Regions from separate parts of the Homo sapiens genome. Here all the other regions are linked to region 1. The links are contacts of gene promoters, found by promoter capture Hi-C in human tissues and cell types (Jung and others, 2019). All regions are on one chromosome and are shown on one strand. Each heading gives the region's core, a stretch centred on a gene start or on the middle of the fragment in contact. The rest is flanking DNA. Distances are from core to core; before and after follow the strand shown.

The links. Contacts are between HindIII fragments. The study calls those that stand out against the background at their distance.
Region 2: a contact is called between a fragment that was not itself captured here and the fragment with the promoter of GUCA1B in region 1, in 2 of the 25 tissues and cell types used here (dorsolateral prefrontal cortex and spleen).
Region 3: a fragment that was not itself captured here is called in contact with the fragment with the promoter of GUCA1B in region 1 in 2 of the 25 tissues and cell types used here (H1 embryonic stem cells and spleen).
Region 4: a contact is called between a fragment that was not itself captured here and the fragment with the promoter of GUCA1B in region 1, in 1 of the 25 tissues and cell types used here (IMR-90 fibroblasts).
Region 5: a contact is called between a fragment that was not itself captured here and the fragment with the promoter of GUCA1B in region 1, in 3 of the 25 tissues and cell types used here (adrenal gland, mesenchymal stem cells and pancreas).

Annotation. Positions count from the first base shown.
Region 1 is chr6:42,193,480-42,196,392 of GRCh38, forward strand. GUCA1B (guanylate cyclase activator 1B) reads right to left here and starts at 1,477. Exons shown (of 4, transcript NM_002098.6): 1 at 1,135-1,477. The coding sequence starts at 1,341. The HindIII fragment of the contact is 9,949 bases long and covers 1-2,913 here.
Region 2 is chr6:42,431,849-42,434,761 of GRCh38, forward strand. All of the region lies in intron 2 of TRERF1 (transcriptional regulating factor 1), which reads right to left. Among named protein-coding and RNA genes, the nearest start is that of TRERF1, 19 kb to the right of the region's middle. The HindIII fragment of the contact is 3,553 bases long and covers 1-2,913 here.
Region 3 is chr6:41,965,546-41,968,458 of GRCh38, forward strand. It overlaps a transcript of CCND3 not described here. Among named protein-coding and RNA genes, the nearest start is that of CCND3, 25 kb to the left of the region's middle. The HindIII fragment of the contact is 3,497 bases long and covers 1-2,913 here.
Region 4 is chr6:42,377,256-42,380,168 of GRCh38, forward strand. All of the region lies in intron 2 of TRERF1 (transcriptional regulating factor 1), which reads right to left. Among named protein-coding and RNA genes, the nearest start is that of TRERF1, 73 kb to the right of the region's middle. The HindIII fragment of the contact is 7,127 bases long and covers 1-2,913 here.
Region 5 is chr6:42,326,180-42,329,092 of GRCh38, forward strand. All of the region lies in intron 3 of TRERF1 (transcriptional regulating factor 1), which reads right to left. Among named protein-coding and RNA genes, the nearest start is that of MRPS10, 110 kb to the left of the region's middle. The HindIII fragment of the contact is 6,647 bases long and covers 1-2,913 here.

The sequences.
Region 1 (2,913 bases), core at 227-2,726:
CCTTTTGCCCAGCTTTCTCATCATTTAATTTGGAATAACAAAAGTCTGCCCCTCCCACCCAGGGTTGCTGCTGATTCAGAGGAGACCTAAGAGAGGCGGAGCGCTGAGAAGTCCGAAACTGGCTCTGTGCCCTGTGGGGTGGTCGATGGGGTTCATCTCTAAGGAGGTTCTGTTGAATTGAAGGTGCTGACCTCACCCTCCTGTCCCGGGACAGGCACTGTGGGGACGTGCACTGACTGGTACCAGCGACAGGATGAGACCTGAAGTGGCATTCCCAGTGATTCAGCTTAGAAAGCTAAGTTCTCCACGCACTGAGGAATGGAGAACTGACACTTTCTTCAGATTAAATTGGTATTTGAGGCAAATACCAGGGCATTTGAGGTATTTGAGGTATTTGAGGATTGCCAGGGCACTGAACTGGATAACCTTAAATAATCAAGGGGTTTTTAACTGAATTGAAATTTAAAATTCAATCCCCTGGTGCATTTACAAGATGTGTTATCTTCTTAGCTGCTAGTGACATTGTGGGCTTAGAGAAACTCTAGTCTGAATGATTTAATGAAACCTTCCAGGACTTGAAGAGCTGAAAGGGGCTTTTGCAGTCATTCGCCCAGTCTCCCAATACATGCAGGAGCCTCTTCCAGCATTCTTGACAGGGAGGATCTGACCAGTCTCAGAAGAACCCCAACAAGAGGGAGCTCATAGCCCATGCTAAGATACCTTGTCTCATTTAGAACATCTCTTTTGCTCCTAGTGTTTAGAGTGACAGGGGCTCTGGCAGATGCGAAAACCCGGTCATTGGGCTGCAGAGTCTTGGTCAAAAATACACAAAGAGAGGACCTGGACTGTCTGCCAGTCGCCCTTCAGCTCTCAAGAAGAGGACACAGGGAGCATCAGCCGACAGCTAAGAGATGGAGGGAGGGAAGGAGAGACAGAGAAGATGGAAAGGGACAAAAGGAAGAGAAGAGACAGAAGGGTTTGGTGAGTGAGACAGAAAAGGTAAAGAGAGACGGAGTGGAAAGAAGAGCAGAGAAAGAGCCGAGGAGTGGGGAACTGGGAGCTCTCCCTGAGGACACTTGTGGAGGAAGGCGCCAGGTGGACTGGCCACTGGTCCTTCCCTTCAGGGTGCCTTACCCCATTCTTGTCGAAGGCTCGGAACATGCCCTCTACATACTGGGAGGCCTCCTCATCGTCTGTGACCTTGAAGAAGCGCTTAAACTCATGCATAAAGAGTGTGCCGCTGGGGCACTCCATCACAAACTTCTTGTACCACTCCTGGAGCTCCGCCACATCTATCTCGCCAGCTGCCTCCGCCTCCTCCCAGCTAAACTCCTGCCCCATGCTAGCCCTGAGGAGCATCAGGGAGCAAGGGTCTGTATCTCCTCCCTGGCTTCTGCTGATGGATCTCTCCAACTAGGGCCCTCTTCCTCCCTTTCCAGGAGGCCTGATCAGCCTCTCCATCATCTCCTGGGTGACTGAACATGATCAGTCGGTGCAGGGGGCAGGTGGCAAGGGAGGTGGGTCCAGGCCAGCTAAGCTGCCCTAAGACTATTAGAAGATTCCCCAGGTGGCCGGGTGCGGTGGCTCATGCCTGTAATCCCAGCACTTTGGGAGGCCGAGGTGGGTGGATCACAAGGTCAGGAGTTCGAGACCAGCCTGGCCAACATGGTGAAATCCTGTCTCTACTAAAAATACAAAAAATTAGCTGGGCATGGTGGTGGGTACCTGTAATCCCAGCTATTCAGGAGGCTGAGGCAGGAGAATCACTTGAACCTGGGAGATAGAGGTTGCAGTGAGCTGCGATCACACCACTGCACTCCAGCCTGGGGGACAGAGTGAGACTCTGTCTCAAAAAAAAAAAAAAAAAAAAAAAAAGAGATTCCCCAGGAAGTTCTGACCTCCAGCCTAAACTCCTCCAGCCTCACTCCTTCCCTTAGCCTTGTCAACAAAGCAACCAAGCTGGCCCTGGTAGACTCTGAAGAGGTAGAAGGGGAAGAAACTGAGAGGTAAGCAGAGAGATGCAGAGTGAAGAAAGAGTCGGGGTGCTAGGCTGGGATCCTCCCATCTCACTCACTCCCTATCTCTTTAGCTGGGCCTCACATTGCTTCAGGGAGGCCCATCTTGGAGACAGGAGACTCAAATCCAGAGAGGAAGTGAGATCAAGTCCTAGGCCATAAAACAGAATCTGCTGGTGATCTGGGACTCGCCCCTCAGACGGTCTAGTGAAAAGAGGCAGAATCTATGATGGGAAGGGCTCTAGGTGAGCAACTCTCTTCCCAGGCTAACTCGGTCCCTGAAGCTCCTTTCCAGATTACACCTTTCATCTTGGGAGCTTTTCACTTTCTGATTTAAACTACAAATGCCTCCCTCCAACCCTTCACACAAGACCTAGGGGTAGTGCCTTTTTCACATTTCCTCCAAAATACTAACATGTGAGAAGGATCTGGGAGCATGGCCTAAAATATCTTTGAAGGCTCTTACTTTTACATTATAGGTCATGTAAAATTTGCTTTTGAACAATTACATATTCATGCTTATTTTAATGTAACATAAAAATGACACCTCCAAGAAATCAAAAGACCAGGGACACACATTTTTCTTTTTCTTTGCTTTTTTTTTTTAAATTTCTATTTTTTGAGACAGGGTCTCGCTCTGTCGCCCAGGCTGGAGTGCAGTGGTGTGATCTCGGCTCACTGCAACTTCCGCCTCCGGGTTCAAGTGATTCTCATGCCTCAGCCTCCCGAGCAGCTGGGATTACAGGTGCACACCACAACACCCAGCTATTTTTTCTTCTTTTTTTTTTTTTTATTATACTTTAAGTTCTAGGGTACATGTGCACAACATACAGGTTTGTTACATAGGTATACATGTGCCATGTTGGTTTGATGCACCCAGCAGCCAGCTAATTTTTGT
Region 2 (2,913 bases), core at 186-2,685, 240 kb after region 1:
TCCCAAATTGTCCCCACCTTCATGTCCCTCCCCCTACCCGATGAGAAAGAAAAAAAGGCCCAACTAACAGAAGACTGAGGAAGCCCTGAAATAAGCTAAAATGGTTAGAAAGAAAGTGATAATAAATGAGAACGATGAGCTCATGGTAGTATAGTATAGCAGTTAACAGTACAGGCTCTAGGGTCAGAATGCATGGCTCAGCTCTGCCACTGACAACTGTACCATGGGCAAGTGACCTATTCCCTCATGCCTCAGATTCCTCTTCTCAAAAAAGAGGACCAGTAATAATACCTGTGCCCTAGGGCTCTTGGGAGAATTAAAGTCAGTATTATACAGCATGTAAAAGAATTGTCTGGCACGTGGTGAGCATTATATGAATATTTCTCAAGAAATAAAAATACTTTTTAAAAAGGAAAGCTTCTTTCTGAACCATCCAAGAGAGAAAAGGTCTATAGTTTTATTTTTGTACATGCTATATGCATAAAAACAATCACTACTGATTAGTATTTTCAACTCTGATCATTTCTACTCCACACTTTTAAAATATGAATAAAATGCTTCAGCAAAAATATACAAAGACATTTGTGGCGGTATTATTCATAAAAGCAAACTGTGTGAAATGACCTAAGTATCTGACAATTGAAGAAAATGTGAGTAGATCATAAAAGCCATAACAGGGAGCTTGTGCAAATATTAAAAAATCACATGATGGGCCAGGCACAGTGGCTCACACCTGTAATCCCAGCACTCTGGGAGGTTGAGGTGGGTGGATAACTTGAGGTCAGGAGTTTGAGACCAGCCTGGCCAATATGGTGAAACCCTGTTCCTACTAAAAATACAAAAATTAGCCAGACGTGGTGGCAGGCGCCTTGTAGTCCCAGCTACTCAGGAGGCTGAAGCAGGAGAATCGCTTGAAGCCAGGAGGCAGAGGTTGCAGTGAGCAGAGATCATGCCACTGCACTCCAGCCTGGGAGACAAAGTGAGACTCTGTCTCAAAAAAAAAAAAAAAAAAAGTCACCTAAAGAATTAAAGAATGTTTAAAGACATGGAAAATACTTCTAATGTTAATCATAAAGGATACGAAATTAGACTTCGCTTTCAGGTATTATGGGGCAGTGAATATTAAACTAGTCCTCTGGTACAGAACAGCTACATAAGATAGATAAAATACAAGATAATTATAATAATAACATTTTGAAGGTGTGGAAATACAACAAGGCAGTTGGGACTTGAGGGACCAGGCTCCTAGAGGAAAGGGAGGTGCAGTGAGGTGAGCCATGTATTAGTAGCTACTGTTTTCCCTCAGGACACTTGCTAATCTGGTGCAAGGAACACAGAGGCAAAACAGAAAGCAGTAAATGAAAGCTTTCAGCAGCTTTCTCCCTGGGCCGAGAAGACAAAAACTGGAGTTCAGGGCTATGAACATATCCAAGATTTAAGAGCCCAAGATACCAGAAAAAAAAGTGAACCCCAAAGAAATGAGTCCAATGTTCTGCAAGCGATTTCTCCTCAAGGCACTGACACACACCTAAGTCTTCTGTGCACAGAGCTAAAACCTAGGAATCCAAACAGAAAAAAAAAAAGCTATTAAAACACTAGCACATTAAGCAGAGCTTTGGTAGTTTTACAGTGGCAAGCAGATGAAACTCTGAAATCAGGGCCTACCAAGGCCTTCTTGTACCATTGTACAGGTAAGGGCAAATAAAAAATATACCAGCCTTAACTGAGCCTCTACATTTTCCACGGTAAAATGCCCAGCACTCAAACAACAATCACCAAGCATGTCAGGAAATAGGACCAAACCAACAAAAATACACGATCAATAAAAACAAACCTCAGAAGGTATCCAAATATTGAAGTTGTCAGCCAGAACTTTAAAATTACAAGGGCCAGGCATGGTGGCTCACATTCATAATCCCAGCACTTTGGGAGGCAAAGGCAGGAGGATCACTTGAGGTCAGGAGTTCAAGACCAGCCTGGATAAACAGAGCAAGACCCCATCTCTACAAAAAAAAAATTTTTTTTAATTATCCAAGCATGGTGGAGCACACCTACAGTCCCAGCTACGGGAGGCTGAGTCAGGAGGACCACTTGGGCCCATGAGTTTGAGGCTGCAGTGAGCCAAGTTTGTGCCACTGTACTCCAGCTTAGGCAACAGAGTGAGCAAGACCCTGTCTCTGTTTTTCAAAAAAGAGAGAACTGAATAGATGTGCTTGACAACAAAAAGGAATAGTAAAAGAAATGACTGGTGCTGTGGAAGATGGGTCAGTAGAAAAAAATACATAAAGGCACAGAAAATACAGAAATGAGTTCCAGAGACATGTAGGATACCATGAAAGGGTCTAACATATGTGCAGGAGCCTGAGAAAGGGAGGAGAGGATTAAACAGCAAAAGCAAAATTGGAAGACAATGCTTCAAGAATTTTCTAAAACTGACCAAAAACACAGAGCCATGATTTACAGATGCACTCCAAACTCCACAGGGGATCCATATGAAGAGAACCACACCTATGTACATCATAGTAAAATTGCTAAAAAAAAAAACAAAGCCAAAGAGAAAAAACAGATATGTTACTTTCAGAAGAACCACAATAAAACTGACAGATGACTTTTTAACAGAAATGAAGGAAGCCAGAAGACAATGGAATGACATTTCCAAAGGACTGAAAGAAAATAAAACAAGCCCAAATCTCCCAAATATGAAGGTGAATAAAGATTTTTTTCCAGGGGAAAAAAATCTCCCAAATATGAAGGTGAATAAAACGCATTTTCCGACAAACAAAAACTGGGAGAACTGGAACACCAGCAGACACCCTCCACCACACACACACACACACACACACACACACACACACACACACACCCCTAATAGGAGTTATTCATGTAGAAAGAAATTAAGCTGAGAGAGAAGCA
Region 3 (2,913 bases), core at 182-2,681, 230 kb before region 1:
GCAGTCATCCTGGGAATACGGGGAGAGTGGAATGCAAGGAACATCCACATTTAAGGGGTAGGTGGAGAAACGGAAGGAAACAGAACAGCCAGGAAGGTCAGGAGAAACCAGAAGCCACGGGAAAGAGTTAATACCAGATCACAATGCTGCCAGGGCCAGGAACCCTCCCTCAGCTCACAAAGTATCAGACTAACTGGCCCAAGCGCCCTCCCACCCCAAAGGACACATTCTTCCTTTTGATATGTTAATCGATGCCGTAGGGTTAAGGTCGAACTTTCACTAGCTCGGAGCCTTTGTGTCTCTTTAAATCCGCTTGCATATCTTTGTCTGACCCATTATGTACAGATTTTACAGTTTACATCTGAGTTAATTATCTTAATTTAAATTTCTGGGAAGATTCTTCCAGGCTGACCTCCTGCTGTATGGGATATGGCAAAATAACTTAGGCCTTTAGACTGAGAGCTTAATTAAAATATGGGCTGTGCTGTGTGACCTTGGCCAAATTACTTAAACCTCAGTGTTCCTGCCTGTAAAATGGGGATAATATAAATTGCATTTAGGGATGGTTATGAGAATAAGAGAAAATACCTAAGATGTCCAGTTTATAGTATGTGCTGTTATTATTATGTTTAGTGCTTGGCTTCAGGTCCTGATCACCTGGTAAGCTTGTTAATTCTGATGGCCACCTTCTGGGCAACACAGAGATATCCGAGCTCCACAAAAACTAAAATCAGCCAGATATGGTGGTGCATGCCTGTAGTCCCAGTTATAGGCTGAGGTGGGAGGATCCCTGGAGCCCAGGAGGTCGAGGCTGCAATGAGCCATAATTGCCACCACTACACTCTAGCCTGGGCGACAGTGAAACCCTGTCTCAAAAAAAAAAGAGAATTCTGATGGCCCTGTTATACTCCCAGAACTGAAAATCAGAATCTTAGGCATGGAGCCCAGGTTCTATATGTTTATCTCCAGGTGATTCCGAAACACATCCAGGGCTGAGAACCACAAGCACACCCTCCCCTCCCCACCGAACCAGGAATTATGTTCTCCTTCTGTTGTCTGTATATCTCCATACAGAATTTACCACAGTCTATCAGTAAACTGTCTCTTAGTTAGGCAGGTCTGTCTATCCCATAGCTAGAAATTCTGAGGGTCAGCTCCCTTCTAGACTGGATGTGGTTATTCCCAAATCAACCATCTACTGAGTCATGCCTCTTCATCCATTACAATAATCTCATTTTAGAGGGGAACCCAAGCTTTTTGATTTATTAATTTATTCACTCATTTGCAGTTGACCCCTTAAGCCCTCTACAGCATGAATAATTGAGAATTCACACAAATTCTGGGGTGAGACTAGAACAAATGGAAAGAGAAGTTTAACACAAGTTGACGCAAGTCTCTAGGTATTAATAACTGCTCCATAATTAATAATAATATAACAATAGTTATATAGCATGCTTTGTGTCAGGCCTTGTTTTAAGTGCCGGCTAACCATAGGTCGAAGGCTTCCTGGATTCCCTAGCAGAGGAATGAATGACATGAAAGGAAATTCCTCTAGGAAAAAAACAAAACAAAACATTTTTGAGGTTTTCTTTGTCTCACCTCTGGTTTCAGACCCATGGTTCCTTTGCTGAGTCATGGAGAACGGCATTTTGAAAGGGGGAAGGCGGAGGAGTGTCACCTTCCTATTCCCAGGGCAGCAGAGTCACCAAGGCTAGACAGCCACATTTTCATCCTACCCTAAGTCTCTTCAATGAATACATAATAATATTAATGAATGCTTGAATGAAAAATTAATAAGTAATTCAACAAGCACTTACTGATTCCCTCTGAAAGATTTGGAATCAAATATCCCTGGATTTGATTCCTACCTCTGTCACTTATGACACTGGGCAAGTGACTAAGCCTCGATTTCTTCATCTATAAAAGGAGCTGGGCCAGGACATATCAGCAAGTTCCTTCTCAACTCTCTAGTCCAGGCTTCTTAGACAATAACCTGCACATGAATCATTTGGAACTTTGGTAAATGCAGATGCTAATTCAACGCTTCCGGGTAGAGCCCGGGAATCTGCATTTCTATCCATCTCCCGCAGCAGCTGCTGGGACACACCTTGAGTAGTGAAGATCACACTTGGAGTCCACACTGAGGCAATTTTTAGCTGTTCTCACTCACAGACTTTCTTATCCATTGTATCAATTTTAGTGCGTCAAAGTGACTTGCAGAACCTGTTAACTATGCAGCTGCGTGATTCTTTCCCCAGTCCCCAGAATCAAAGTCTCAGACACACCCTGGTGGTTCTAACCCCCACTAATGTCCACATCCTTCAAGGTGGTTATTTATTTGCCTTCTCCAGCCTTCCCTTGAGTAGGCCAAATCATTCTAAATGCTTCAAATGTTTTTGCACCCAGGATTTTGTAATAAATTCCCTTTAAAAGGTCAGACATTTATGAGAAGGGAGTTTAATTATTAGTCTTTTCTGAATGTAAACCATCTTCATTCCAACTAAAGTGGTAGGAGAGGAGAAGCAGTATGGGGAAAGAGTAGAATTTCCTGCTGATTTGACACAAAATGCTGATATCAATGAAGATAACATTTAGCTAACAGCAAATGGGGTATAAAGTGTCATCAATTCAATGAATCACTGTGCACTGGAAAAAAATGCCCTAAAATCTCACAGCTCATATATGAAAGAAACTTTGATGTCCCAAATTTGACACTAATCCTAATATCTTTATGACATTACCAATAATGACTTCTGAAGCTGAAATAAGCTTTTCTGGACTATCAATAATAGAAAAAGTTTATAATCAATCATGCTAGAGGAATACTGGTTTTTTTAATTCTATGGAAAATATTACAAAATTATTATGATATGAAGATGCAGCTAAGAAGGATGCAGCCAAAAAACCTAGGAA
Region 4 (2,913 bases), core at 201-2,700, 180 kb after region 1:
CAACTACTACTATGACTACTTTATTTCAGGGCATTCTCATCATCCCAAAGAAACCCCGTACCCATTCGCAGTCACTCTCTTTTCCTCTCTTCTCCTGACAGCTGCTTTCTATCTCTACAGATTTGCCCATTCCGGACATTTCCTATAAATGGGATTGTACACCATATGGCCTTTTGTGACTGGCTTCTTTCACTCAGCATAATGTCTTCAAGGTTCATCCATGTTGTAGCATGTATCAGTACTCCAACTGCTTTTATGGATGAATAACATTCCATTGTATGGATATAACACATTTCATTTATCCATGAAAATACTTTGTAAAGGACAGAACAAATGATGCTGTCAGCATCCGTGGGGCTGCTTGGGCAGTATGAACATTTATAAATCATCCTTCTCTGCCCCTTCTACCAGGACTCATGGGCACTGTCCAAACCCTCCCTACCCAGTTGTACGGATTTTCCAAACGCACAGTGGCTCAGGATAGCAGCCCTGAATCTCACAGGCCATGATAGAAATAACTCAAATTCCTTCCGAGGGAATGTTCAGTGCCTCTCAAATTGTGTTATATACATCTCCATGGTTGGTCCTGGTAACCTAAGATGGAAGTGGCAAGGGCAGCACTGGCTTTAGGAACATGCAGCCCGTGCGGTCTCACAGGACCCCATGCTTGCTGAAGGTGCTCTTGTCACCATCTTGAAAGTCTTAATGATTTTTAATCAAGAGGCCTCACATTTTCATTTGCACTGAGCTCAGTAAATTATGTAACTAGTTCTGGGTAAGAGGCAAGGGATTGGGAAGGGGGAAGAATTTGGTGATCTTCCCAAAGCTAGTGGGACTATTACTGCTGTGTTATAACAGCTCATTGGCCAGGTTGAGGGGCAGGTGAGGGGTTGAAGGGAGGTGGAGATAAGCGGATGAGGGGTACCAGCTTCCAAAGAAAGCCCAAGACCATATCTTCCTACGCTGAGGGCTGAACACTTGGCTGATAAGGCCTCCCCAAAACAGCCAGACTAGCTGAAAGCAAACTTGATAAGTCGAGGCGATACAGGCTCAGACTGTCAAGCAGAGGGAACTCAAACTGAAACTTGTTTGATCTTGTGATTGCTTATAGGTTGAGACCAAGAAGAAAAAAGAAAAAAAAAAAACCCACATTTACTAAAGTAACCGGCACTGAGAAAACTTTTTAAATATTTACTTTTTTAAACTGTCACCTTTATTTTCAGCATATCAAGAAAGTCATGGTTTCATCAAAAAGCTGATATTCAATCCAAAGAGGGCAGAATTTCAAATGCAGAGGTCTACATGGATTTCAGTACTAGAAGGGACCTTGGGAACAACCTAGATCACTGGCCCTTGTCTGTCAGAGGCAAAGACCCCCGAAGCCCATCTGCATGGATCCCTAGGAGAGTCGATGCCTAGTCCAATTCTTATTTTATACATGAGGAAGCTGAGGCTGAGAGAGGGGAAGTAACTGTCCAAGGCTACCCACAAAAAAGGGGCAGGACCTAAACCTGGGAGCTTTCAGCTTCCCCTCCCAACCTCCCAATTTTATGAACACAACCAAAATTTATATATTGTAGGCTGGGCCGGTGGCTCATACCTCTAATCCCAGCACTTTGGGAGGCCAAGGCAGGCAGATTGCTTGAGTCCAGGAGTTCAAGACTAGCCTGGACAACATAGTAAGACACTGTCTCTACTAAAAATTTAAAAAAAAATAGGCAGGCATGGTGGCATGCACCTGTAGTCCCAAGCTACGCAGGAGGCTGAGGTGGGAGGATCAATTGAGCCCAGCAGGTAGAGTCTGCAGTAAGCCGTGATGGCACCACTGCACTCCAGCCTGGGTGACAGAGTGAGGGCTTGTCTCAAAAAAAAATTTTTTTAATATATTTTGTGTGTACCACCCCCCACAGTCTTTCCCTGGGTCCTCAGCTCATCTTCTAGTACCTGTCTTTTCCTTGCCAGAAAAGGGAGTCTAGGCATGGTAGGTACAAGGGCCACGCAGGATGAATGGAGCTCAGGAAATGTTGCCAGCCTACCATGCCAAAGAGATGGATCCACATGGCCAATGGAAAGCAATGGAGTCTCCACCACCCCAGCCCACTGTGTCCTTTTCCTATAGAGGAGACTAACCAAATCAAACCATCCTTAAAACCAAGGGCCTGGAGGCCTTTCATTTCCATTTGTGTTTATCTTTCCTTCCTCCCCTCCCTCCCACCTTTGCTCCCTTCCTTCTTTCAACAGATAGATACTGGGCACTTACTATATGTCAGGCATGTATTATTTATTTATTTACTTGACAGAGTTTCGCTCTGTCACCCAGGCTGGAGTGCAGTGGCGCAATCACAGCTCACTGCAGCCTTGACTTTCCAGGCATCAACAATCCTCCCACCTCAGCCTCCCAAGCAGCTGGGACCACAGGCGTGTGCTACCACACTTGGATAATTTTTGTATTTTTGGTAGAGACAGAGTTTCGCCATGTTGCCCATGCTGGTCTTGAAATCCTGAGCCCAAGCGATCCACCCACTTTGGCTTCCCAAAGTGCTGGGATGACATGGGATTACAGGTGTGAGCCATCACGCCCAGCCTGTGCCAGGCATGTTGTAGGTTCTGGGGACAGAGTAGTGAACAAAACAGAACAAGTTTTGGTGTTTACGTTCCACAGGGAGGAGACAAAGAAAGAGTTAAATAAATATCTATATGCCATGCCAGACGGTGATAAAGGCTCTAGAGAAAAGGAATACAGGAGGAGAGGGATCGAGAATGGTGAGGAAGGAGGGCATTTTATCTACGACGGTTGGGGCAGAGGTCTCTGGGGGAAGAGTGGAGTCAGCCATGCAGATACCTGGGGGAAGATATTCCAGGCAAAGGATCAGCAAGTGCAAAGGCCCCGAGGTGGGAATCTCAGGAACAACC
Region 5 (2,913 bases), core at 199-2,698, 130 kb after region 1:
AAAAAAAAAATTCAGTGCAACACTGGCCAGGTGACTGGCTTGCCAGTTGGCTGGCTGGATGGAAGGGGTGACAGGGGCCTGTATGAGGGTGGTAGCAATGCAAATGAATCAAATGAAACACAGAATCAGTAGGTTCCAAAGCCTGGATGCTTCTCAGAGTGTGCAGGTCTGACGCCCGTCTCTCTTGGAAAGTGGGAGATTATAACACAATTGCTTTATCACTCTGCAAATATTTCCCAACTTGTGAGGGCATGTTTGGTTATTAACAGATCATGCAACAAATTAGACACAGGAAACAAAACATGAATGACAGAAAGGTGGGTGGGGCCCAGGGCAAGAACTGGAGACCAAAGCCTCCCCTCACATATAATCCAGGAGGATGGGGCCAGACACCCTGGCTTGCTTTGCTCTAAGCTTTGATCATTCCATTCTTTATAGCCCATCTCAGGAGAGTGACAAGGAGCAAGACTCCCTTTCCATGGGGCTGTTTCTCCACCATGCACCAATGTATCATCTATTACCACAAGCTTGTTTTTAACTAATGATCTTGGCAAAAATGATAGAAAGCAAAACAATGCTCTTGTATTAGGTTCCAGAATAACAACAGCTGTTGGAACTGTTGAAAATTAAACAGCCAGACTGGTAGCCTAATAATGAATCAGAACAGTTTCCTCAAAAGGTGCCATCAACAGACAAGGGACTTTTGGGTGGTCACCTCTTCCAAACAATATAACCAACCACTTCCAATCATACGGGACTGTTGCCTCAAATGCCATAATCCTACTGGCCAGGTGTAGAAGCATAGTATCTCTTCTAGCAGCAGGCCAAAAAATGATTTTGAGATTCTAGTCAGAATCCTTGAGACATCTAAGAATCCTCTGATGTTATACAATGCCCACAAGTAAGGGCGGGAGGTGGGGGGAATCTGATAAACTTAATACCACCAGGATAGAGGTCAATAGTGGCTGATTCTCCACCATTCCTTCATCCAGGTAGGAGAAGGGGATGTGCTTGTTGTTCCCTGGTCCCAGAATAAGTATACCCAGTGACATCCTGCATCTGTGCCCCACTGTGCATGTCCCAAAGTGGTTTCACCCATATATCTCACAAGAACCAACCCAGAGGAGGAGCTGGGGGTTGTCCCTTTAATTCCCTTTTACAGATGGGTAAAATAAAGCACAGGTATCTGTGTAGGCAATTTGTCCGGGGTCTCAGAGAGGAGTCATTGACCCAATCTGGTCTTGGAACGTTGGTTTGCTGATGACTGGAATGCAAAGATGATGACTTCTGTATCCCCAGATCCTAGCACAGAGCCTAGTCCATAATGAGGACCCCATAAACGTTTACTGAATAGATAACTCCGAGTGCCGAGCTATCCCATTAACCTCCCTTAGGACTTGGTTTCTTTGTCTGCAGAGTAACAGTCTTCTTCTTTTATAAGGTTAACGTGAGGATCAAATGCATTCACACACGAAAAGCTTTAACAACACTGTCTGGAACATAGTTGGTACTGTTATTGCTGAGGTTGTAACTGCTAAGAAAACCAAGTAAGATAAGAGGAGAGAGAACAGTTGTTTTAGAAGACTCTTCTGAGGATGCACCATTGGAGCAAGATCTAAGTGAAGGAAAGGAGTCAGCCCTCCTGGAGCTGGGGAACAGCAGGGCAGGCAGAAGGCATGGTGGGGGTGAGGGCTTGGAGATGGACAGGTGTGAACTCGGTGTGTTTGAGGGCCAGAGGAAGTGGTAGTTTTGTAATTATCACAATCCACCTTATTATGGTTTTCATGCCCCAATTACTATCCCTAATTTTCTTTTTCTTTCTTTCTTTTTTTTTTTTTTTTTTTGAGACAGGGTCTCATTTTGTTGTTCAGGCTGGAGGGCAGTGGTACAATCTTGGCTCACTGCAACCTCCGCCTCCCGGGTTCAGGCGATTCTCATGTGCCTCAGCCTCCTGAGTAGCTGGGACTACAGGTGCACGCTACCATGCCCAGCTAATTTTTGTATTTTTTGGTAAAGATGGGGTTTCACTGTGTTGGCCAGGCTGGTCTTGAACTCCTGGCCTCAGGTGATCTGCCCGCCTCCGCCTCACAGAGTGCTAAGATTACAGGTATGAGCCACTGTGCCCAGCCAACTATCCCTAATTAAAAAACAAACAAACAAACAAAAAAACAACTTTTATTTTAGGCTCAGGAGTACCTCTGCAGGTTTGTTATGTGGGTAAACTGGTGTCACGGAGGTTTGTTGTGCAGATTATTTTATCATCCAGGCACTAAGCCTAGGAGGCAATAGTTATTTTTTCTGCTCCTCTCCCTCCTCCCAGCCTCCACCCTCAAGCAGGCCCCAGTGTCTGTTGTTCCTCTCTTTGTGTCCATGAGTTCTCATCACTTAGCTCTCACTTTCATGTGAGAACATGCGGTATTTGGTTCCTAGCCCTAATTTTTGGGAGGAAATGTGGAGTTGTCTGTCTGAACAGCAATGCCATGCTAAGCAGAGTCTTAAGGGCCACTCTGAAGGTTTGTTCAGAGCATCTTAAATAGGGCTGAAGAATCTGCTCTGCTGAAAGTTAAAAAAAATCCCTACAGCACTGTTCACACATTTCTAAAACTGAGTTTACTTTCTAGGCCATGGGCAACCGGCTGGGGAAAATGAGGCTCCAATTCACCCTGATCCTGGAAGGCCCCCAGCTCATGCTCACCTGAGAGAAATTTACCAGCATCCACCCCAGTCAGCCTCCTCCCTGACCAGGTCTCCGGGAAGTCACTATGATAAGTGGGGAGGAAAGAGGCGAATCTATATAGCAAGCACTGGGAGAAACACACATTGGAAGCTAAGGCCCTGCCTTGAAACAACACTGTCCTGTGTCATTTGAGGCTATTCTGTGCTGTTATCACAGTGAGGACAAGACAAGTTGGA